7 separate regions of the Homo sapiens genome follow, and regions 1, 2, 3, 5, 6 and 7 are each linked to region 4. Evidence: promoter capture Hi-C in 16 types of primary human blood cells and fetal thymus (Javierre and others, 2016). All regions are on one chromosome and are shown on one strand. Each heading gives the region's core, a stretch centred on a gene start or on the middle of the fragment in contact. The rest is flanking DNA. Distances are from core to core; before and after follow the strand shown. Region 1 holds the start of THUMPD3 (THUMP domain 3 tRNA guanosine methyltransferase). Region 2 overlaps ATP2B2 (ATPase plasma membrane Ca2+ transporting 2). Region 3 overlaps IRAK2 (interleukin 1 receptor associated kinase 2). Region 4 holds the start of RPUSD3 (RNA pseudouridine synthase D3). Region 5 overlaps TATDN2 (TatD DNase domain containing 2). Region 6 overlaps IRAK2 (interleukin 1 receptor associated kinase 2). Region 7 overlaps THUMPD3-AS1 (THUMPD3 antisense RNA 1).

Evidence for each region. The method cuts DNA at HindIII sites, captures the fragments that hold promoters and counts their contacts. A CHiCAGO score of 5 or more calls a contact.
Region 1: the fragment with the promoter of THUMPD3 here is called in contact with the fragment with the promoter of RPUSD3 in region 4 in 1 of 17 cell types (fetal thymus); the score reaches 5.4 in fetal thymus.
Region 2: a contact is called between a fragment that was not itself captured here and the fragment with the promoter of RPUSD3 in region 4, in 5 of 17 cell types (naive CD8 T cells, naive CD4 T cells, activated CD4 T cells and 2 more). The highest score is 6.7, in naive CD8 T cells.
Region 3: a fragment that was not itself captured here is called in contact with the fragment with the promoter of RPUSD3 in region 4 in 1 of 17 cell types (total CD8 T cells); the score reaches 5.5 in total CD8 T cells.
Region 5: a contact is called between a fragment that was not itself captured here and the fragment with the promoter of RPUSD3 in region 4, in 8 of 17 cell types (total CD8 T cells, fetal thymus, activated CD4 T cells and 5 more). The highest score is 13.4, in total CD8 T cells.
Region 6: a fragment that was not itself captured here is called in contact with the fragment with the promoter of RPUSD3 in region 4 in 1 of 17 cell types (M2 macrophages); the score reaches 5.4 in M2 macrophages.
Region 7: a contact is called between a fragment that was not itself captured here and the fragment with the promoter of RPUSD3 in region 4, in 1 of 17 cell types (neutrophils). The highest score is 5.5, in neutrophils.

What each region holds. Positions count from the first base shown.
Region 1 is chr3:9,361,130-9,364,653 of GRCh38, forward strand. It overlaps THUMPD3 (THUMP domain 3 tRNA guanosine methyltransferase), which reads left to right and starts at 1,925. Exons shown (of 10, transcript NM_001114092.2): 1 at 1,925-1,998. It also overlaps a transcript of SRGAP3 not described here. RefSeq lists enhancers at 1,655-1,864, 2,085-2,144, 2,215-2,294, 2,315-2,374. The HindIII fragment of the contact is 4,632 bases long and covers 1-2,513 here.
Region 2 is chr3:10,326,992-10,330,486 of GRCh38, forward strand. It overlaps ATP2B2 (ATPase plasma membrane Ca2+ transporting 2), which reads right to left. Exons shown (of 23, transcript NM_001001331.4): 23 at 1-2,134. The coding sequence ends at 1,823. MIR378B (microRNA 378b) reads left to right here and starts at 3,238; the gene lies at 3,238-3,294. RefSeq lists an enhancer at 1,293-1,841. The HindIII fragment of the contact is 4,701 bases long and covers 1-3,495 here.
Region 3 is chr3:10,192,984-10,196,084 of GRCh38, forward strand. All of the region lies in intron 2 of IRAK2 (interleukin 1 receptor associated kinase 2), which reads left to right. Among named protein-coding and RNA genes, the nearest start is that of IRAK2, 30 kb to the left of the region's middle. The HindIII fragment of the contact is 326 bases long and covers 1,515-1,840 here.
Region 4 is chr3:9,842,672-9,845,987 of GRCh38, forward strand. RPUSD3 (RNA pseudouridine synthase D3) reads right to left here and starts at 1,337. Exons shown (of 9, transcript NM_173659.5): 1 at 1,219-1,337; 2 at 794-930. The coding sequence starts at 1,319. RefSeq lists an enhancer at 1,200-1,279. The HindIII fragment of the contact is 7,859 bases long and covers 1-3,316 here.
Region 5 is chr3:10,252,287-10,255,401 of GRCh38, forward strand. The region is part of intron 2 of TATDN2 (TatD DNase domain containing 2); the gene reads left to right. Among named protein-coding and RNA genes, the nearest start is that of TATDN2, 5.4 kb to the left of the region's middle. The HindIII fragment of the contact is 8,400 bases long and covers 1-3,115 here.
Region 6 is chr3:10,209,730-10,212,915 of GRCh38, forward strand. The region is part of intron 4 of IRAK2 (interleukin 1 receptor associated kinase 2); the gene reads left to right. Among named protein-coding and RNA genes, the nearest start is that of TATDN2, 37 kb to the right of the region's middle. The HindIII fragment of the contact is 2,369 bases long and covers 101-2,469 here.
Region 7 is chr3:9,389,735-9,392,986 of GRCh38, forward strand. It overlaps THUMPD3-AS1 (THUMPD3 antisense RNA 1), which reads right to left. Exons shown (of 4, transcript NR_132781.1): 2 at 556-763. Among named protein-coding and RNA genes, the nearest start is that of THUMPD3-AS1, 5.3 kb to the right of the region's middle. The HindIII fragment of the contact is 4,963 bases long and covers 1-3,252 here.

The DNA of each region.
Region 1 (3,524 bases), core at 675-3,174, 480 kb before region 4:
TCTCACTCTGTCACCTGGGCTGAAGTGCAGTGATGTGATCATAACTCATTACAGCCTCAACCTCCCCAGCTCAAGCTATTCTCCTGTCTCAGCCTCCCGAGTAGCTGGGACTACAGGTGAGTGTCACCATGCCTAGCTAATTTTTGTCATTTTTTTGTAGCGACAGAGTTTTGCCATGTTGCCAGAGCTAGTCTCAAACTCTGAGCTCAAGCGAGCCACTCACCTCAGCCTCCCAAAGCGCTGGGACTACAGGCATGAACCACCACTCCCAGCCCCTTTGCACATTTATAAATTGTGTTCTTTTTGGTTTTGTTTTGTTTTAAATTCGGTTTATCTTTTTGTTGTTGGGTTCCTTTCACAATAAGTTAACTTTTGTCAACTGAAAAATAAAAATAAAATTCTATGCCCCCCAACTGACTGAACAGGCCCTCTCTTGGCCAAGGAGACCCTAGAAAAAACTTGGAAGCTGAGTTCCTACTCATGACAGGATGGGAAGTCGGACACACCTCTTTATAACCCCTCCCTCTATAATCGCCATTAGATTTTCTTTCCTAAGGGTTAAACAGAAACCAGCCCTTTTGAAAGACTCACTCCACCAGCCTGATGCTGACCCTCCCATTTGCAGTTTCAATAGAACAACCGACTAGCATTCCTTCCTGATAAGAGATCACCCACCATCCAGGGAGTGGTTCTGGCCAGTCGACAGAGGACGTGCAGTGAGGGTTTTCACATCCCCTGCTTCACCTTTTGAAGTCAAGCGGTAGAAAACTCTACCCTTGGATCATGCTAAGGCCACCATTTTTTAAACATGGGATCCACAGAGAGGCATGAAGCTCAACTGCACATGCACAAATTGCTCCTTTCATAAATATTCGTGACCCCTCTTACAGTTTATTTAACATGTATATTTGGCCACTGTGTTTAGCATAAATCCCTGTCTTATTCTTCCAACCCTGGAAGTGCCTGTTTTTGGCTTCTGACTGGAAGCTAGGCTTCCCAGTCTGTCAAAATGGCTACCATGCAGGTTCAACTCTTTTTTTTTTTTTTTTTTTTTTTTTTTGAGATGATGTCTTGCTCCCAGACTGGAGTGCAGTGGCACAATCTTGGCTCTCTGCAACCTCTGCCTCCTGGGTAAGCAACTCTTCTGCTTCATCTTCCCAAGTAGCTAGGACTACAGGTGCAGGCCACCACATCCAGCTAACTTTTGTATTTTTAGTAGAGATGGAGTTTCACCATGTTGGCCAGCCTGGCCTCAAACTCCTGACCTCAAGTGATCCACCCGCCTCAGCCTCCCAAAGTGCTGGGATTACAGGCATGAGCCACTGTGCCCGGCCAGGTTCAACCCTTTATGAGAAATAAAGTTCATCTGATTGGGCACAGTGGCTCATGCCTGTAATCCCAGCACTTTAGGAGGGCTAGACAGAAGAATCACTTGAACCCAGATGTTCGAGACCAGCTTAGGCAACATAGTGAGCCCCACTATTTCTATTTTTTTTAAACTAAAGAAAAATATGAAGTAAACAGTGCTAAAATAGTGATGGCAATACAGAAATCAGGAACTAGTGGCATGACATTTTGAGAAAGATATTTAAATAAGCTGGAGAGACTCGGTGTCTCCAGCTTTAAAACAGAAATCAGTCTCTGCCACTTCATAGGTGCTAGAACAAAAGAGACTTGTTCCAAATGAGATGACGCATGTGAAGCGCTTACCCAGTGCTCGGCAAGGGGAAGCACTCTCTAAACGTTAGCAAATACCATGGTAGGACACAAGGCCCCTGACTCTCCGCTTTCAGCTTACTGAAGATCCTCAAAACCAACAGCACACAGCTTCCAGCGCATGCTCCTTTCCCCAAGACCTTGTGGGGGAACCCGCCGCCAGCGCGGAGCCACCGTGACTCGTAGCCTGACTTCCGTTTCCGGGGGCGGCTTCCGGCGGCGTGACCTGACCGCAAGAGGCCAATGGAGTGTGGGAGCTGAAAGGGTCTTCGCTGGCGGCCGGTAACTGGCGGCGGTTGGGAACGGCCGAGTGTGGCTCTTCTGGTGTTTCAGCTTGGGGAGAGAGGGGTGGCCTTCCTCTTGCAGTTGAGGCCGGCGCCGAGCCGGACTTCAGGCGGATCTCGTGGCGGAGCCCATCTTGCTCCCTCTCCCAGGCCTTTACCCGCTCCCTAGGATTCCCGGGCCCTGTAGGTGGGAGTTGGGAGACGTGAGTTCTCTTTCATTCTGCGCCTCTCATTGGCTCTCTGACCTTGTGCGGAACGCGTCCTTTAGCTGACCTCAGCTGCATTTTTTAGAAGATGGAGATTGTATTCACAGTGACTGTCAGCTTTTTAACGGCGGGAACTGACGTAGTGTTAAACACTGTCGTGTATCGCTGGCACAGCACAAGGACATTATAGGTATTCTGTACTCAATTAAGTTATTTTGAGTCACAGACCTTTTGAAAATCTCGTGTAAGCTATGGCCCCTCCACCTCTCTAATACTTCCCCCGGCCCCCACCCCAAGCACACACAAAAGCTTATGCATAGGAAATTTGTTTTACTATTTCGGATTACTTCCAAGATCTCTCTCCTGATGCCCATCTATGGATCCCAGAGTCTGGCAAGTAGTAGGCGTTTGAACATTTGTAATCATTAGATAGTAAGTATTCAGTTAACCATTTTTATTTTTAATTTTTTCTTTTTTTTTTTTTTTTTTTTTGAGACAGGGCCTCACTGTGTCACCCAGGCTGGAGTGCAGTCCTCCCACCTCAGCCTCCCAAGTAGCTGGACTCCAGGCGCCCACCACCACGCCCAGCTATTTTTTGTGTTTTTGGTAGAGATGAGATTTTGCCATCTTACGCAGATTGGTCTCGAACTCTTGGCCTCAAGCAATCTACTCACCTCAGCTCCCTAAAGTGCTGGGATTACAGGCATGAGCCAGTGTGCCCAGCCCAGTTAATCATTTTTAAATGCATGAAATGCTATTTCACAGGAGGGAAGAAGATAGATAGCCTATTAATAAGTTTTAATTATTGGCCTAACCAGGTACTACTCTCACTTGTCTCCTAACGACTCTAGGAAAGAGGTATTACTAATTACTTAATTACATTTGAAGGTTTGGGAGAATTAATTTGCCATAAGTCATTCAACCTATGATGGTGGAGGCAAGAATTCAAACCTGTATCTATCTGAAACTCCAAAAGCCCCATATTATTATTATTATTATTATTTATTTTATTTATTTATTTATTTTTTTGAGACAGAGTCTTGTTCTGTTACCCCAGCCGGAGTGCAGTGGCATGATCTCAGCTCACTGCAATCTCCACCTCCCGGATTCAAGCAATTCTCCTCCCTCAGCCTCCCAAGTAGCTGGGATTACAGGCTCCCACCACCACACCTGGCTAATGTTTGTATTTTTAGTAGAGACGGGGTTTCACCATGTGGGCCAGGCTGGTCTTGAACTCCTGACCTCAGGCAATCTGCCCGCCTCGGCCTCCCAAAGTGCTGGGATTACAGGTGTGAGCCACCACGCCCAGCCAAGCCCT
Region 2 (3,495 bases), core at 326-2,825, 480 kb after region 4:
TTTTCCTCGAAGCATGGGACATCATCGATCATGGTATTCAAAATGTCTTTTGCACTGTACAAGTTTATGGAAAAAAGATCATATGCTGAAAAGTCTCAAAGCAAACTTTGTATTAAATACAAAAGTTCTTTTATGAAAAACGCTGAGACCCACAAAGTGCTTAGCAGTTAAGAGGCTGACATCCAATTAAATAAGCTCTTATTAAGTGGGATTACTAGTGCTGTTGTCTTGGGGAAAAAATAACCACCTTTTCTCACCTGTGATACTGTAGGGTTTCAGAATGGCTTTCTGTTTGGGAAAGCAAGACTTGCTGTTAAAAGGCTACAGTATATATTGTGACTACAGGAAGACAATTTGGTTTAAAATCACACTGAGTACATCTCAATATACACATCATAAGGTTCATTCGGATCTAAATAGTGCAGAGAAAAAGGCTATTCTTCTTCAAAAATAAAAATAAAAGCAGCAAGCCATACTGATCCTCATCCAATATGCCAACAGCTCAGATGCTGCCATTAATAAGGAAACAAACCTGTAAGTTACTAAATAAAAAAAAAAATCAACACAATACCATTTATAATATTTCAACACTACCTCAATCTCTGTACAGACAGTGCCAAAGAGAACCTATTTTTGAAATGCTCTTAGTAAACTCAAGCGAGTTTCATTGAGAGAAAAGTCTTCGAGCAGTGCTTTGCAGATCCTGGCATCCTTGGGCCGGATGGCCGTTAGTGTTGCAAACCCAGGAAGCCTTCTCTCCTCCTCTCCCTTCGTCTACGGAGCATGTTGTTAAACCCCTCAGGATGGCAACTCGGTAGCATTTGGCTTCTGCCTGAGCCTCTCACGGTAGTGACATTATTGAACGGAAATAGCAGGCAAAAATCAGAGCATGGCTATCATAAAACATCCAGGATGCAACCCAGGGGAAGTGTCTGTTGGGCCGAGCTGTTTTTATAGCATCTCAGCCACCAGTGTTCTTAAACCATACAAATAGCCAAAGACGTTATCTACAGGTTTGTAAACAAATTACATTCTTCTTTTAGGACATAAATAAGTTAAAATAGAGCAATTTAAGCGGAAACAAGGCAACATGCCGGCAAAGAAACTTTATATATCCATGTATATATATTTATATATATATATATATATCTACCTATCTATATGGACGTATACAGTCTCGGAAAAGTATACGTTGATATAGATACAAAGAAATGGATATAACCTTGTGAGTGTCTATGAAGTTCTTCGGTTCCATTGGTGCAAATCTACTAGGCGAGTTAAGCTCTGCAATTTCAAAAAGTTATTAAATTAATCTATACAACTGAGACCATGCTGTGCAAGCATTTCAAAAACTCACAGACCAGTGGATTGGATAAATAGTCTCAGAAAAGAGTCTGTTTGCAGTTCCCGCCTAAGAAAACAAACAAACAAACAAAAACCCCTCCCCAACCCCCAAAAACCAAACAAGGGGAGGATTGAAAGTGTACAGTACATTCATGCGGGGGACGTGGTGGCTGGGCGGGTGCATGGCTGGTCCATGTCTGGGTGGGAGCCAGGAAGGGCTTGTTTTGGGAAAACCGCTCACTCCCGTAAGCCCCCAGTGGAGATCCCGCCCCTTGCCTTGAAGTGAAAAAGAGTTCAAACAGCATCGCAGCCAGAGAAAGGGTCTGTGGGTGGAAACGTTGGTTTTCTCTCCAGTATTTGGTTTCCGATTGTTGCTCGTTGCTGCTTGGGTGAGTTGGGTGCCTGGATGGATGGGTGCCCGGAAAGCGGGTGGCAGCGGGGTCCATGAGGGCGGGCGGGCAGGCGAGAGGGTCCTCAGCTAAAGCGACGTCTCCAGGCTGTGGATGGGGCTCCCTGGACTTGAAGAGGTAGCTGATTTGCTTGTGTCGGTCGTCAGGTTGATCCCACTGTCGATGGCGCTGTTGTTCTTGTTGAGGGATGACGGCGGGCTCGAGTTCTGCTTGAGCGCGGCATCTTCTTCCAGGTCGGTGTCATCAATGAGGGGGATGTGGGGCTGGGAATCTTCGATCCGGAATTCAGGATGAGCCATGAAGTTATGGATGGAGGTTCGAGATTCAGGCTTTTCTAAACCTTCATAGAGAGAGCTACGGAACGCCTTCACGACGCGGATCTGCAAGGGAAGCACAGGGGTCAGGAGCACTGCCCAGGGACCACAGCCAGGCTCGGGGGGCTCACAGGAGGGGCGGGTGGGAGAAGGGTTAGGGCAAAGCAGGTGGCTGGAATCCATAGTCGCTGGGTGTTATTAGCATTGACAGGATGGGGGAGAGTGAAAAAGGGGGCTCAGGTTATAGGCATCCTTGAGCTGGTTTTTAAAAATCTCTTTGGTTTTGGTAGAAACTAGTGTTAGGACAGGAGGAATCACCAAGCACCATCAAAGAGATGATGGGGAACAGTGGTTAAAGGAAGCACAGTCGACTCCTGCGGGCACCCACACCTAGTGAGAGACTGAGCCTTGTTCACTTTAAAGCAGAGGTTCAACCATGCAGACAGGGAGGAGGACCAGGTGGGAATCAAGTAGGAAAGAGGAGAGGCTATTAAAAAAATTCATCTTAGGAAAACCACACACAGTTAAGAAACCATACAACATGGAACATGTTACGTGTCACAAACAGAAAAGGCACAGAAAGGAGAGACGGTTGGATGAGTTGGGATGAGAGAGACACATGAGGGCCAAACAGAACGGGAACATCAAACCAAAGGCAGCAAAGCAAACCAAAGCCAACCCAGGGCTTTCTGAGGTGCAGAGCAGAGGCAGCCAGAAAGCACATGGGAGCTGGCGGACAGATGACATTCGGGGGCGGGCTGCATGCCACGGGGAGGCCGGGAGCCACATGGCACACACAGACAGACACACGGCTACACTTGGAAGCCTGGACAATGTGAACGGAGGTCGTTTGTACCCAGCGTTTCTTTCCTTCATGCATTTGGGAGGTAAACACTCGAGTATAGACTCAAAGCCCTGGCCGGCCAGTTATTGGAGCTTGCTTTGGGGTCTCTTATTTCCTGGGGGATTTTGTTTATTTCTTTATTTGTGCTTTGAAAACACAAAACCAAAAAACGAGGCTGGAATCAGATGGCCAAACCCAGCCCCAGTGGGATTCTGGGGTGTGTGGAACTGAGTCACAAAACAGCAAGTTCTTTCATTTTCTGTCTCAGTTGTGAACCACACGTCCTGGGGCCTCAGTTTCCTCCGCTGAAGAATGGGAGGAGGCTGGTCATTGAGTCTTCAAGGCTAGTGGAAAGAGCACTGGACTTGGAGGCAGAAAGACCCAACTTGCATCCTGGCTCTGCCACATCTGGTGCCTTGACTGTGGACAAGCCACACTAGCTCTCTGGTTGTCCTCTGTCCTGCCTCACAGGGTGCAGAGGGACGGGACCCTCACTTGGAAGAGAGGTGTCCCTTCTCTGGACTCCTGGGAGGGGCAGCAGTGCCTGTCATCTCAAGAGTCTGATGGGACTTGGGACAAAGGT
Region 3 (3,101 bases), core at 428-2,927, 350 kb after region 4:
GTCCACTTCCACATCTCATTTGTCGGATGAGGAAGCCAAGGCTTAGGAGGATCCCCCTGCTGGTGAGCCTGACTGCAGGACACACTCCAGACTGCGGGAGTTCATTTGCCTTCCGTGGCATCAGTGATTCATGCTCATTAGGAAGAGCACAGGCATTCCGAAAACAAATCAGAGAGAAAAAGAAATCATGCCTGGCAACCAGCTCTGGTGAACCATGACAGGGGCACAGAGAAGCGCTTCTGCCCCTCCCCCATTTCCTCCTTGTATCTGGGACTCAGCCCTCATCACTGTGGGTTCTCAGCCTCAGCAAGGCAGCTTTCACGGATATCCAGATTCCAGGCTGGGTGCAGTGGCTCACACCTGTAATCCCAGAACTTTGGGAGGCCAAGGCAGGTAGATTGCTTGAGCCCAGGAGTTTGAGATCAGCTTGCGCAATATGGCAAAACCCTGTCTCTACCAAAAAAAAACAAAAACAAAAACAAAAACAAAATTAGCCTGGCGTGGTGGCGTGCTCCTGTGGTCTCAGCTACTTGGGAGGCTGAGGTGGGAGGATTGCTTGAACTTGGGAGGTAGAGGCTGCAGTGAGCTATGGTTGCACCAGTGCACTCTAGCCTGGGTCACAGAGCAAGACTCTGCCTCAAAAACAAAAACAAAAAATCCAGACTCTGTCTGAGAACTGCCGTGTCAACCTTCTGGTGCCTGTGGCCACCTAAGCTATAGATTAGCTGTTCCTTCCGTCACCTGCGTCCCCTTCCTATCCCTGGGGGTCCCAGCAGGGAGAACCCTGGGCTGCCCACCTCCAGTGTGTGACTGAGGCTGGCTGCCAATGGCGTGGGCACAGGCCCCCACCTCCCCTGCTGCTGGGCTCCTATGTTACTTTGCTCTCATGGCCACTGTACCTCTCGGGACTGTGCACCAAGTTGCTGCCCACCTAGAATCGGTTTCCATTAGAGTGTTTAAAATGTTAAAAATAGCCTTCCACCCTAAATGCTTCCTTCGGAGGCCCGAGTTGGGAATCAGAGGTTCTTTTCTATCTGCACCTTTCTGGCAGAACTGAAGGAGGGTGGCTGTTTGCACAGTGTTGTGGGCCCCTGCCCTGGGCCAGCCACTTCACATTTGTCATCATGGAGCCCTGGGACGGCCCTGGGAGGTGTGGGGTTATTATTCTGATTCCACAGGAGAGGCGCATGAAGCTCAGAGGGTTAGGAGGTCTGTGCCTGGGCGTGAAGCTGGAATCGCAGAGCTTGGGTCTGGCTCAAGCCAGAGCCGACGCTTCCCCACGCTTACTCTTGTGATCCTAGTTCTACTCTTTGATCACAGTCTGTGTTTTTGGATCTCATGATCCTGCAGAATCAACTTTATGTGTGGAATTCTCTTGAGAATTTAATCCTGGGAGGAAAGAGTGCTGTCTTGGAAGCCTGAGGCTGCCCCTGTCTATCTGTGATAAGAAGTCCGTGAGCAGCTCACTCCTGAGCCTTGGCCTTGGCAGATAGGAAGCTCAGTGCGAGAGTTAAAGCTTGTCACAGCCCTTTCTTGTAGGCATTTGGCCTCCTTTGCCTCATCCTGCCTTTGGTGTTCTATTTTTATTTCACTAGCTCTCTGGTGTGCCAGCCTGAATGAGTGGGCGTTGCGTCTTTCTAGCTAGCAGGGAGCAGGTTTGGAGGGATGAGGACAGAGGCCATTTTCTCCATCTTCATGTTTGGACAGTGGGACAGGCATGCATGGGCCTGCCTGTCCACCCAGCTCAGACCATGCCGGCAGCTCCAGGGTGGAGATGAGGGCGGTTCATGTTTATACGCACCATTTATTGCTTGCATTTTAAAGACATCTAAAAACTCAAAGCTTGAGAAGATGGGGGTTTCACAGGAAACCAGAACTTCTTGTTGGGGCTGACATGGGGCTCTGTTGGCTTACATCCGTGGCTGGTGTGACCTGGTGCCTCTTGTGTGGGAGGGTGGATGTTAGCCCCAAGTGTGCTGACAGGTCTGGTCACAGGTAGCCCTGCCGACACCGCCCCTCCCCATCTGTTCCTCACTCCTGCTCACTTCCAAATGCCCTGTGGTGCCAGGTGGGGCCACCGCATGTCACTGCAGAAGGAACAAGAAAAAGAAAGAGAAAAGCTGGACTCTCTTTAGGATGAAAACATAATGACATTTTTTATCTTCCCCACGGGTGGAGCCCACAGAGGTCGGCCACAAATGGGTTGGTGGCCTTGATGTTCCTGCCAAATGTGTTTTGACAGAGAGGCAAAGATTTGTGCTGAACAAAACATTACCCTGAATAGGACACTGGACTGGGAGCAGTGGCTCAGGCCTGTAATCCCAGCACTTTGGGAGGACAAGGTGGGAGGATCACTGGGGCCTAGGAGTTTGAGCCCAGGCTGGGCAACATAGTGAGATGCTGTCTCTACACAAAATTAAAAATTAGCTGGGCGTGGTGTTGCCTGTAATCCCAGCGGCATGGGAGGCTAAGAGAGGAGGATAGCTTGAGCTCAGGAGTTTGAGGCTGCAGTGAGCTGTGATCACACCACTGCATAGCCTGGGTGACAGAGCAACACCCTGTCTCAAAAAAAAAAAAAAGGAACAGGACACTGAAGTTAAGTAAGGCTGTAAGTATCACCCTCATCCCCGTTTTACTGTGATGAGAACAATGAGGCTCAGCCAGGCAGGCCTCCGACAAGGAGAAGGTGCCTCATTTGCTGGGATCATGGGCGGTTCTGGGTGTAGGTGAGACCTTTAGGGAGCATTTTATACTGTTGCGGGCCTGGCCTCTGCAGGAGGTCACTGTTGGGAAGTGACTTCAGCGAGCCCAGCCGGCCCTGAGCCAGGGGAGCCACTGCTGCCCTTTTGACACAGATGTCACAAGGATGACAAGCCTTTCCAGGAGCATAAGCCCCACTTGAGGCAGTTTGAGGAGGGAGGGTGGAGGGAGAGAGGCAGTCTCTCCCTGCCAGAGAGGGGAGGCTGGGAAAGATGAGGACTGGGAGTGGCGGGGGGTAGCCTTCCAAGGGAGCACAGGCAGAGCTTTCACTTCTGTGCACCCTGGGAGCGACAGCTCTGTTCCAGACCCGTGCTTGAATCAGCACTCACCCCGACATTGTT
Region 4 (3,316 bases), core at 87-2,586:
CATATCTATCTTTTTCAGCACTGTATAGCCTGCCTAGAACAGTGCCTGGAACATAGCATATGTTCAAGAAATAGTTGAGAAAAGGAATAAATCACTGAATAGAGAGTGGGGTTCAGAGAAATTCAGTTATTTTCCTAAAGCCGCACAGCAAGCTGATCACAGAGCCTAGGTATGTCTGACTCCAAAGCCTGTGTTTTGTCCGTCGATAAATAATCATTATTTATTTATTTATTTATTTAGACTGAGTCTTGCTCTGTCATCCCAGGCTGGAGCGCAGTAGCACGATGTCGGCTCACTGCAACCTCTGCTATCCGGGTTCAAGTGACTCTCCTGCCTCAGCCTCCCGAGTAGCTGGGATTACAGGCGGACGCCGCCACACCTGGCTAATTTTTGTGTTTTTAGTAGAGACGGGGTTTCACCATGTTGGCCAGGCTAGTCTCGAACTCCTGACCTCAGGTGATCCGCCCGCGTCAGCACCCTAAAGTGCCGGGATTACAGGCGTGAGCCACCGCGGCCAATAAACAATAATCTAGTATAGCAACTCCCGTAACTGAGCGCCGGCTATGTGCAAGGCTCGGTAGTTATTTGCATCTTCTCCCCACTCTTAACCCTACTGCATCATGGCAGTAGGGTTAAAAGCGGGGAGAGGGTGCAAATTAGGTGGCTTGTCCCAGCTCATGCTGCTAGTGGGAGGCAGAAGCAGGGCTGATCCCGTGGCTTCAATGGAGAGCCCAACTGCACGCCGAGGCAGTCCCCTCCCGGTCCTTGTGCGGCCGTGCCTCTCACCCCTCACCTTTCCGGTCCACCACGGCTGCCCGCAGCGCATCAACCAGCTCCTCCCGACTGAGGTTTTTTGGCAGCAGCCCCGCGAAGGGCTGGTCCCCGAGGGGCCCCGACCGTTGGCAGGAGCCGCGGGGTTGCCTCTGATGCCTGGACAAGGAGGGAGAAGCAATGGGAGTCATTCCATCCCGAGGTGCCACCCATTCCTATCTCCGGACGCCTCTTCCCAAATCCTGCGGCCTCTGACAAATGCCTCACAATGTCTGGGCTGACCTCGAAAATTCAGGTACGACCGGTCCCATTCTACAGCGGAGGGCACCGAGGCTCAGAGAGGCCAACGGGGCTGTTTTCGGGTAACATCTACCTGATCCAGATCCCGCACGTGCCTTCCCCCTGCCCTAGCCTCCGTCCCGCATGAGAGAGGGGGTACTTAATCACCGGGCTTCGGTGCCAAAGCCTGCGTCCTCGGGCACTGGGCGGACACCCAGGCCCCGCCGCCAGCCACTCCAGAACCGGCCCAAAACACGGCGGCCGTCCATCTCCCGAGCCAGGACAGCGCGCATGTGCGTCCAGAGGGGCAGACCCGCGCTCCAGCCAGCGCGCTGATTGGTCAGCTGGAGTGTCAATCGGAATGGTGACCGGGCGGGACTCAGAGCCTGAGGAGGCGGGGCTTTTCCTCCGCCCAGGAAGGAAATGCAGAAATGCCTTCCTATGCTTTTAGGGAGAGCGCTGTAGCAGAAGAATTTGATCTGATCAAAAAACCTGTCTTAGCAAAAAACCTGAAGCCGCCTTTGCAAAAATTATATTACAAAATTATGACAGCGAAAGAGATCTGATCTAACCAACCCGCAGCTTGCCTTTAACCTCTAAACGGTCCTTGGTCATTCCTGGGCTTGGGCCAAGCTAACTTTGGGAGAAATTAGTTCGTAGTCTAAATGATAATTGCCCTTCCCCCGAACTAAACTGGCTTCATAGAGTTAATGAAAGGCCACCAGGTTAGGAGTAGTAGAGGGACCTGAATTCTGCTAAGGGTTAGAGGTAACTGATTACCAGCGGTTATTCCGGAGGTCACAGTGTTTGCAGCTTCCCCAGCTCACGATTGTCCAACCTGAGATTGGCCTTTGGAGATGTCTTTCCAGGCTTTTGCATTTCTGACGGCCGGATCACCCCACCCGGACCCTCAACTCTTGGCTCTACTAGTCCTGTGGCCCCTCGAAGTCAGGAGATCGAGACCATCCTGGCTAACACGGTGAAACCACGTCTCCACCAAAAATACAAAAAAATTAGCCGGGCGTGGTGGCGGGCGCCTGTAGTCCCAGCTACTCGGGAGGCTGAGGCAGGAGAATGGCGTGAACCCGGGAGGCGGAGTTTGCAGTGAGCCGAGATCGTGCCACTGCACTCCAGCCTGGGCGACGAGCGAGACTCCGTCTCAAAAAAAAAAAAAAAAGAAAAAAGAAAAAGAAAGTAGAAGAACACAGAAAAAAAAGAATAATATAATGACTGCCCACATTCCTACCATCAGAATTAGTCATTGTGAAACAATATATATATGTATAGGTTTCCTGTTTTTCTTGTTTAAGAAATGAAAGGGATAAAAGTAAATTCCCCTTTACTGCGTGCTTCCAGTTTTCACTCCCTCCCCAGTCTCCACTTTGAGTTTGGTGTGAACATTTTCCTAATGTGTTTTGGTTTTTGTTTTTTGGAGACAGAGTCTCGCTCTGTCACCCAGGCTAGAGTGCAGTGGCCCGATCTCGACTCACTGCAACTTCCACCTCCCGGGTTCAAGCGATTCCCCTGCCTTTGCCTCCTGAGTAGCTGGAATTACAGGTGCGGTGCCCGCCACCACACCCGGCTAATTTTTTGTATTTTAGTGACGGGGTTTCACCATGTCGCCCAGGCTGGTCTCGAACTCCTGAGCTCAGGCAATCCGCCCGCCTTGGCCTCCCAAAGTGCTAGGATTACAGACGTGAGCCACTGTGCCCGGCCACTAATGTGTTTTTTTGCTTGCTCTGTCATCCAGGCTGGAGTGCAGTGGCACAATCACAGCTCACTGCAGCCTCAACCTCCCAGGCTCAAACGATCCTCCCACTTCAGTCTCCTGAATAGCTGGGACTACAGGTGTGCACCACCATACCTAGCTTTTTTTTTTTTTTTTTTTTTTTTTAAAGATATGGGGTCTCACGATGTTGCCCAGGCTGGTCTCAAACTCCTGGGCTCAAGATAAGAAAATAAAAATAACAAAATAATTTTTAAAAAATCAAACTCCTGGGTTTAAGGGATTCACCCACCTACTTCGGCCTCCCAGAGTGCTGGGATTAAAGGCCGCACGGGGCCTTTGACAGACACTTCTTTTTTTTTTTCCTTCGAGATGGAGTCTCACTCTGTCACCCGGGCTGGAGTTCAGTGGCACGATCTTGGCTCACTGCAACCTCTGCCTCCTGGGTTCAAGCAATTCTCCTGCCCCAGCCTCCCAAGTAGCTGATACTACAGGCATGCACCATCATACCTGCCTAATTTTTTGTATTTTTTAGTAGAG
Region 5 (3,115 bases), core at 516-3,015, 410 kb after region 4:
ACTGTGCCAGCTGGATTGTCTTCTAAGCAATTAGAGAATTTATACAGGGCTCTACACAGAAAAGGAAATTGCATTGTAGAAAGATCACTCTTGTCGAGTGAGGGTTTTTATATTACCCTGATTGTCCATCTCTAGGACTGCTGAAGTCTCTTCCTGGAGTATATGTTTGTCAGTTTAAAAACCAAGTGTACAGTACTTGACTCATCTTGATGAATTACAAAACACCTCTTACCTTCCACCTTCATCTGTACCTCTTCCTCCCTTGCTCTGTGGTCATCTGTGAACTTATCTGTCCTGGTCCTAAGTCCTTCAGCAAGCACAGCCGAGGGGTACTCACAAAAATGGCATGTTCATCCTCAGGTCCTTCTAGAGTCCTCTCACTGCTCTCCTGTGTCTGCTCTGTAAACTTTTTTTTTTTGTTTGAGACAGGGTCTTGCTCTGTCACCCAGGCTGGAGTGCACTGGCATGATCATAGCTCACTGCATCTCAACCTCCTGGGCTCAAGCGATCCTCCTGCCTCAGCCTCCCAAGTAGGTGGAACTCAGGCGTGTGCCAACCTGCCTGGCTAATTTTTTTTTTTTTTTTTTTGAGACAGAATCTTGCTCTGTCACCCAGGCTGGAGTGCAGTGGTGCAATCTCGGCTCACTGCAAGCTCCGCCTCCCGGGTTCACGCCATTCTCCTTCCTCAGCCTCCCCAGCAGCTGGGACTACAGGTGCACGCCACCATGTCCGGCTAATTTTTTTGTATTTTTAGTAGAGATGGGGTTTCACCATGTTAGCCAGGATGGTCTCGATCTCTTGACCTCGTGATCCGCCTGCATAGGCCTCCCAAAGTGCTGGGATTACAGGCGTGAACCACCGCGCCTGGCCTGCCTGGCTAATTTTTTGTGTTTTGTAAAGACAAGAGTCTCCCTATGTTGACCAGGCTGGTCTCAATCTCCTGGGGTCAGGCAGTCCTCCCACCTTGGCCTCCCAAAGTGCTGGGATCACAGGCATGAGCTACTGTGCCTGGCCTTGCTCTGTAAACTTTGAGGGTTACACAGTTGACTTTGTTCCCTTCTCCCACCAGCCTTTAACACATCTTTCTCTGTGCCAGGTCACAGAATATTCTGAGGGGAAGGTGTTAGACTGGTCATTTTAGAATCGGTAGAGATCCCTGCTGGCTGACCTCACATCGTTCCCTTCTTACCTCCAGGACAGTTGGAGATGTTTCATGTTAGCTGATGATCTTCATTTACTCTTCACAGAGGAGACTAACTGTGTGACGAGCACCTTCATGTAGTAAAGATTATTTTTACTATGACATCTAAATGTCTACATTCAATTTAGAGTTGAAAGAATGGAAGGGAAAATTTGAGCATGTATGATAAGGCTTGGTCAACTATGATTCTCGATGTTTGATCTATAGACTATCACATAATCCCAAAAGTGTCGTGAAGTAGGTGGTATTATCTCCACATATCCATTAGTAAATACCTTCATATCAATTAACAAATATTTAAGCACCTACTCTGTGTAGGCACTGGGCAGATGAGATTCAGAAAGGTTAAATAAGCTGACCAAGGCCATGCAGCTGGTAAATGGCCGAGCTGTGGGGTAATATCAGATTAGTCCAACTTCAAAGCCAGTGTTCTCTGCACTGCTGCCTCTGGGAGCACCTGCTCTGTTCTAGCCTGGCATCAGATGTAGGGGTGGCAAGACGAAGGTGCCAGGGTCCCTCCCTTGCGGAGCTCTCTGCAGGGTGAGTTAGCCCAGGCACAGTAAAGCACTGGGTATTGAGGCTCTTGAGTGATAGAGCTTTTGCACATCCCCTTTCCTGCATCTCCACTTGGCACATGTCTAGTGCACACGTGGAACACCAGGCTTGGGGCTGTTGTTGCCAAGGACAATCGGGCCATGCTTCACAGACTGAGAAGTCACTCACCACGGGGCAGTGAGTGGAGAGCTGTAACAGGGATGGGTTTGGAGTACCCAAGGGTCAGGGGAATGAGCGACTGACCATCAGGAAGGTCCTCACAGAAGAGGTGACATCTGAGTCTTACTGATGGACAAGGAGGGGGACAGGACATTTCGGGCATAGGGAGCAATACATGCCCAAAATGTCAGGAAATGCTGCTTGTCTGGAGTGCTTGGGGCACTGCTGGCCCTCCCTTCTCTCATCCGTGCTCTCCTGCGTTCCCTGGACACTTGCGTGTTTGGAGGAAGGCAGGAGATGAGGCTAGACAGGAAGGCTGGGGCCAGTCTGTGAAGGGTTCCTGATGAGCTCAGGGGTAGGGATTATTCTGTAGGCAAATGTGGAGCCCTGGAAGGGTTCTAAACTAAGGCTGAAGTGGTGGGGTTTGCATTTTAGAGCTCCTCTGGCACGCTGCAGAGAAAGGGTAGGAGGGAGAAGACAGGGAGCTGGTGAGGAGCTGTTGAAATCCTTCAGGCTACTGGTGATAGGGCTGGAGCAACATCTCCACTTATCTTTCCTTCTTTCCTTTGGAGATGCACAGTTCACCAAGCAGTGCTTCCAGGAAGAACGAACTCTCCCCTTTATGAAGTCAGGTGGTTTGTCTCTTACCTTCTGCCCATGGTCTACCTACTTCTTACCTTTAGAGCCAACTGTCACCTGCTGAAACTCATCCTCGGTGTCGTTGATCCATCTTAGGTCCTCCAGCCTAGGAGAGTGTTTCTCACTTTCTCTCTTTTTTTCCCCCTTCCCCCTTCCTCCTTCCCACTTCCCACTCCCCCTCCCCCTCCCCCTCCCTCCTTTCCTGTCTGTCACCCAGGCTGAAGTGCAGTGGTGCAATTGGCTCACTGCATCCTTGACCTCCTGGCTCAGGTGATCTTCCTGCCTCAGCCTCCCAAGTAGCTGGGACTACAGGCGTGCACCACCATGCCCAGCTAATTTTTCTGTATTTTTTGTAGAGAGGGGTTTTTTTGCCATGTTGCCCAGGCTGGTGTTGAACTTGTGGGCTCGAGTGATCTGCCTGCCTCAGCCTCCCAAAGTTCTGAGATTATAGGCAGGAGCCACCATGCCCAGCCAACAGTGTTTCTCACTTTCATATTTCATTACTCCTTTCCCTTGGCTTCCAGGATGTTAGGGAGAACTTGAGTTTGAATCCCGGTTCTG
Region 6 (3,186 bases), core at 35-2,534, 370 kb after region 4:
CTCCCAGCGTGTAGTTCCCTCTCAAAAATGCAATTTCTCTACCCCTTGAGACCAGTTTAAGGGTGGAGAGGAGAAAGGAAATTGCCATCAAATTACCCCAAGCTTCTAAGACTGTAAGTAGAGGAGGTCAATAATAGCGGGGAGAGGGAGGGAGGGCACTTCAGTGAATATACTTCTTGTTTTTTAATTTGTTATTATTATTATTTTTGAGACAGAGTCTCGCTCTGCCACCCAGGCTGGAGTGCAGTGGCACGATCTCGGGTCACTGCAACCTCCGCTTCCCGGGTTCAAGTGATTCTCCTGCCTCAGCCTCCCAAGTAGCTGGGATTACAGGTGCATGTCACCATGCTCGGCTAATTTTTTGTATTTTTAGTAGAGACGGGGTCTCACCATGTTGGCCAGCTTGGTCTCGAACTCCTGACGTCAGGTGATCCACCTGCCTCCGCCTCCCAAAGTGCTTGGATTACAGGCATGAGCCACTGCACCCGGCCATTATTTTCTTTTATTATTTTATTTTATTTTCGACCTGTGGTCTCAGCTACTTGGGAGGCTGAGGCGGGAGGATGGCTTCAGCCCAGGAGGCAGAAGTTGCAGTGAGCTGTGATCCTACCACCACATTCCACCCTGGGTGACAGAGTGAGACCCTGTCTCCAAAAATGTATGACCATATTGGTACGAAGATAAATAAAATCCAAGCAGGATTAAAAATGAGGACATTTCTTTGACTCTAAAAGTCCATTTATTTTCTTCTGATTTTAAAATAAATTAAAATGTTCTGATGGCCCCTAAAAGTGTTGTGAGCCTAGACCCTTTGCATCCAGTGCCTGGGGGAGAAGCCAGCTTTGCATGAGTGTGGTTAATGAAGCTCTTCCATGTCCCAGGTGTGGTGTCACATGCCTGTAGTCCTGGCTATTTGGGAGGCTGAGGTGGGAGGATCGCTTGAGCCCAGGAGTTGGAGACCAGCCTAGGCAACACAGGGAGGCCCCATCTCTAAATTAATAAATAGATCAACCTTCCATGAAGGATAAACCCAACACTTTGGGAGGTTGGTATGGGAGGTTCACTTGAGCCCAGTACTTTGAGACCAACCTGGGCAACAGTGTGAGATCCTGTGTCTACAAAAAAGTTTTTTTTGTTTTTGTGTTTTTTTTGAGGAGTCTCGCTCCATTGCCCAGGCTGGAGTGCAGTGGCACGATCTTGGTCACTGTAACCTCTGCCTCCCAGGTTCAAGCTATTCTCCTGCCTCAGCCTCCTGAGTAGCTGGGATTACATGCACATGCCAGCATGTTTGGCTAATTTTTTTTTGTATTTTTAGTGGAGACAGGGTTTCGCCATGTTGGCCAGGCTGGTCTTGAACTCCTGGCCTCATGTGATCCGCCCACCTCAGCATCCCAAAGTGCTGGGATTACAGGCATGAGCCACCGTGCCTGGCCAAAAAGTTTTTTTGAGACAAAGTCTCCCTCTGTTGCCCAGGCTGTCTCGACTCACTGAAACCTCTGGTTCCCCAGTTTAAGCGATTCTCCTGCCTCAGCCTCCTGAGTATCCGGGATTATAGGTGTGTGCCACCACGCCTGGCTAATTTTTGTATTTTTAGTAGAGACACGGTTTCACCATATTGCCCAGGCTGGTCTTGAACTCCTGGCCTCAGAGGATCCGCCTGCCTTGGCCTCCCACATATGGTGAGATTACAAGCAGTGAATCACTGTGCCTGGCCTCGCCAAAAAAAAAAGTTTAAAAAATAAGCCAGGCGTGGTGGCACACACCTGTAGTCCCAGCTACTTGGGGGCGCTGAGATGAAAGGATCCCTTGAGCCTGGGAGGTTGAGGCTGCGGTGAGCTGACATCATGCCATTGCACTCCAGCCTTGGTGTCAAAGTGAGACCCTGTCTCAAAAAGAAATCAAAACTATGTGTGTGGCATGATACCAGTTTTGTTAAATAAATCCTAGTATATCTAATTGGCCGGAAATACACTAACTTTAATAGCAGTTAAATGGATAATGGGGTTATGGATACTAATTTTCAAAAACTGTTAAGAGCATATGTAACTTAAAAAAATTGAAATTTAGGCCGGGCGCGGTGGCTCGTGCCTGTAATCCCAGCACTTTGGGAGGCCAAGTCGGGCGGATCACGAGGTCAGGAGATGGAGACCATCCTGGCTAACACGGTGAGGCCTCATCTCTACTAAAAAAATTACAAAAAATTAGCCGGACAGGGTGGTGGGTGCCTGTAGTCCCAGCTGCTCGGGAGACTGAGGAAGGAGAATGGCGTGAACCTGGGAGGCGGAGCTTGCAGTGAGCCGAGATCACACCACTGCACTCCAGCCTGGGTGACAGTACGAGACTCTGTCTCAAAAAAAAAAAAAAAATTACGTACATGTGTTTTAAAGAGAGAAGTTATTAAAAACGGAAACAGAACTTCTTTTTATAGGCTTATATACACATGCAGTCTCTGGAATTCTGTTTAAAGCAAGCTTGTCTTACTTGCCCATGGTTGTGTGCAGCCCAGGATGGCTTTGAATGTGGCCCAACACAAATTTGTAAAGTTTCTTAAAACATTATGAGTTTTTTTTGCAATTTTTTTTTTAAAGCTCATCAGCTATCATTAGTATTAGTGTATTTTATGTGTGGCCCAAGACAATTCTTCTTCCAGTGTGGTCCAGGGAAGTCAAAAATTGGACACCCCTGGTTTGGTTATATGAACCTGTATCCTACTTCCCAGGAGTCTGGAACCCCAGTATCTATGCTGTGAATTAGACCAAGAGTGCTGAGCTCGGCCACTGACCAGCTGTGGGACCTCACTTCAGCTGTTTTATTTCCTCAGTGCTTACTTCTGTAAACTGAAATAAAGGAAACATCAACCATGTGCCAGGAATACTCACATCTTAGTCTTCAAAATTACTCTTCGGGGTACTATTGTTACCTTCATTTTTGCTGATGGAAAAAATTGAGGCTCAGAGAGGTTAAGTAACTCACCCAAGGTCACAGAGCAAGATACAGATGGAGCTGGGATTTGAGCTTGGGCCTATCCATGTCCTTTTTTTTTTTTTTTTTTTGAGACAGAGTCTCGCTCTGTCACCCAGGCTGGAGTGCAGTGGCGCGATCTCGGCTCACTGCAAGCTCCGCCTCCTGGGTTCACCCCATTCTCCTGCCTCAGCCTCCCGAGTAGCTGGGACTACAGGCGCCCGC
Region 7 (3,252 bases), core at 180-2,679, 450 kb before region 4:
TCAGGCTGTAGTTCACTATGATGGCAGCTGTGAATAGCCTGGGCAACACAGCAAGACCTCATCTCCAAAAAAAGACAAAAGAACTAAATTATTCTACTGCAGAACATGATTAGGTAAATATCTCCAAAGCAGAAAGACAGGTTTCATATTTTCGTTAGTTTGAGTCAGTCCTTCCAAATCAAATCTTGTTTTTTATTAGTATACAGATGGTATAGCCAGTAAGTAAATGAGAAGCAGTCTTTTTAAGCCGATCCATTCTTAAATGAAAAAATATATAAATATTTTAGAATAAATTTATTAAATTCTAAAGTTGTAGAATTTTTAAATTTGGATATTTTGGGAAAATATTTAAACCACTATTGCAAACAAAACAACAAAATGTACTTATGTTTATACTTAGGCACAAAGAAAACTACAGTATTTTAAAGTAACCATTACACAATATTGAGGTTGCAAAGATTACTGAAGGCATAACCTAAAAAATGAGTTGATTTCTAAAAATGGGAAAAAGGAAAAAAATAATTTCTAAAAACAAGTATGCATACCTAAACCTACCTAATGACACCTTAGAAAATTCAAGTATAGCACCATTCATTAACATCAATGAGGATGTCATCACACATCATGTAGCCTCTGCACACCGTGAGAATAAATGAAAAAGACAGGCATCTTGCTATCATGACAATAGTTTTGACCTCGCAGACCTCTCTGTGCTTACGCAACGGATAAAGCCATAAGAACTGTCCTGCCCTCAAGGAGCAACCTAAAGTAGGAAAAAAAAAACAAAATTACACAATTATTATTTACAATTGTGAGAAGAGCTCTTGACAACATTCAAATGGAGGATACAGTGTAGTAAGGGTGAGGGTATCAAGGCTTCCTTGAGAAGTGATGTTTTGAGGCCATTCTTTCTTCTCAATAACTGGTATTTGGTTCCTGAATCCTTTAACTTCCTTACCATTGTCACTCCTAAGCCAAATCTCATTACGTCATGTCTAGACTACTGTTAAGAGAACCACTTAAGTGGTCTCTGCAGCCCTCAATTTATTGGTGTTATCTATGGGAAAATTGCTCAAACTCTAAGCCTTAGTTTCCTACCCTATAAAATGGGGTTTTATATACAAGGAACATACTAAATACACAGGTATACCTCAGAAACACGGCAGGCTCAATTCCAGAGCACTACAATAAAGCGAATCTCATGAATTTGTTGGTTTCCCAGTGCATAAATTATGGTTACACTATACCATAGTCTATTAAGAAGTGTACAATAGCATTATGTATAATTGATAAATACATCACTGCTAAAAAAATGCTAACAATCTTTTTGCTGGTGGAGGGTCTTACGCCAACGTTAACGATGGCTACTGACTCATCAGGGTGGTGGTGGTTGAAGATTACGATAGCTGTGGCAATTTCTTAAAAGACAATGAAGTTTGCCACACTGACATCCTTTCACAAGACTTCTCTGTAGCATGTGATGCTGTTTGATAGCATGATAGCATTTTACCCACAGTAGAACTTTTTTTTCCTTTTCCTTTTTTTTTTTTTTTAAACGCAAGGTCTCACTCTGTCACCCAGGCTGGAGTGCAGGGGCGCCATCTCGGCTTACTGCAACCTCCTCCTCCCTGGTTCAAGAGATTCTCCTGCCTCAGCTTCCCAAGTAGCTGGGACTACAGGTGTGCACCACACCTGGCTAATTTGGTAGAGGTGGGGTTTCACCATGTTGGCAAGGCTGGTCTTGAACTCCTGACCTCAAATGATCTACCAGTCTCGGCCTCCTAAAGTACTGGGATTGCAGGTGTGAGCCACCACACCCAGCCAGTGGAACTTATTTCAAAATTGAAGTCAACTCTCTCACACCCTGGCACTGCTTTATCAACCAGGTTTCTGTAATTCCTAAATCCTTTATTGGCATTTTAACAATGTTCACAGCAACTTCACCAGTAGATTCCATCTCGAGAAACCACTTTCTTTGCTCATCCCTAAAAAGCAACTCCTCATCCATTCAAATTTGATCATGAGATTGCAGCAATTCAGTCACATCTTCAATGCTTTACTTCCAGTTCTAGTTCTCTTCCTGTTTCCACACCTGCAGTACACAAAAAGCATTCAATAACTATTACTTCATTTCTTCTACCTATGTTTCCATTAGCTTTTGCCTATAGTACGCACTAGAGTATGTTACCATTATTTGTTATAAGTAGTACCTCATTATTACACTATTCGTAAGCAATACCTCAAGGTCTAAGATTAGATTTTAAATCAAGGTCAGTAAAAATAGAAAAGGCTGTGAAGACTGTTGACTGACTTTACCAGAATCCATACACTAGAGGTGAGATTAGTTAGGTGATGAAATAACCATTCTATAAACATGATCTGAAACTCTGTTACTGTTGTCAGCAGGAAAAGCCAATGTTACATATGTTTAAAAAAGAAAAAAAAAACCCAAAACCAGAAAACAAAAGGTGACAAAGTATCAAGACAAAAGGTCACTGATGACTGATCTCTAGGAAAAGCTGGAAAGCAGGATTATTAAATGTAACCACGACTAAGATAAAAATCAGAGACAGAAAAGTCTTTGTCACCAAGAAGATATACTCCATGAGAGAGCAGAAACAATTCATCAGGTTTAACCCTGCTCTAGATAAAATAAAACTATCTGATTCAATACTCACACTTCTCTAATAATCCAATACATTATCCCATCTCAAGAAGAGAGAGTCACAGATAAGAAAAAAAAGGCTTCTTGAGAAGTATGTGCTCTAATATAAACTAATATGCCACTAAGAAAGCAACCTGCAAAGTCCAGTACCAGACTTCTGGATTTGTGACCTAACAAGGTGCTCTACAATTAACCTAACAGTCAAACCAGAGTGTTGTAAAAGAGAATTATGTAATTATGCCAAACCTCCACTCACAAAAAATATATGGAAGTAACCTAAGTTTACATTTTGCAAATCTCACACACACACTAGCCCTGACAAAAGTTTCACCAGCTTTCTCATCCAAGTACAAGCGTGTAATATACTTAATAAATTTGTCTTATAAGGGTAAGAAATAGTATGTAACTACTTGAAAAGGAGATAGGTAGCTGGTTAATTTAAACAAAAAGCCCAAGGAAGTAAGGTGCAGGAAAAGGATAACTGCAATGATTAGTACAGGAAACCCAAAGAAGAACTGAATGGTGGGATAGATGTACTCAGAGACCATGAGGCATCAGTTTCCTCTATGAATAGAATATTAGGAGAT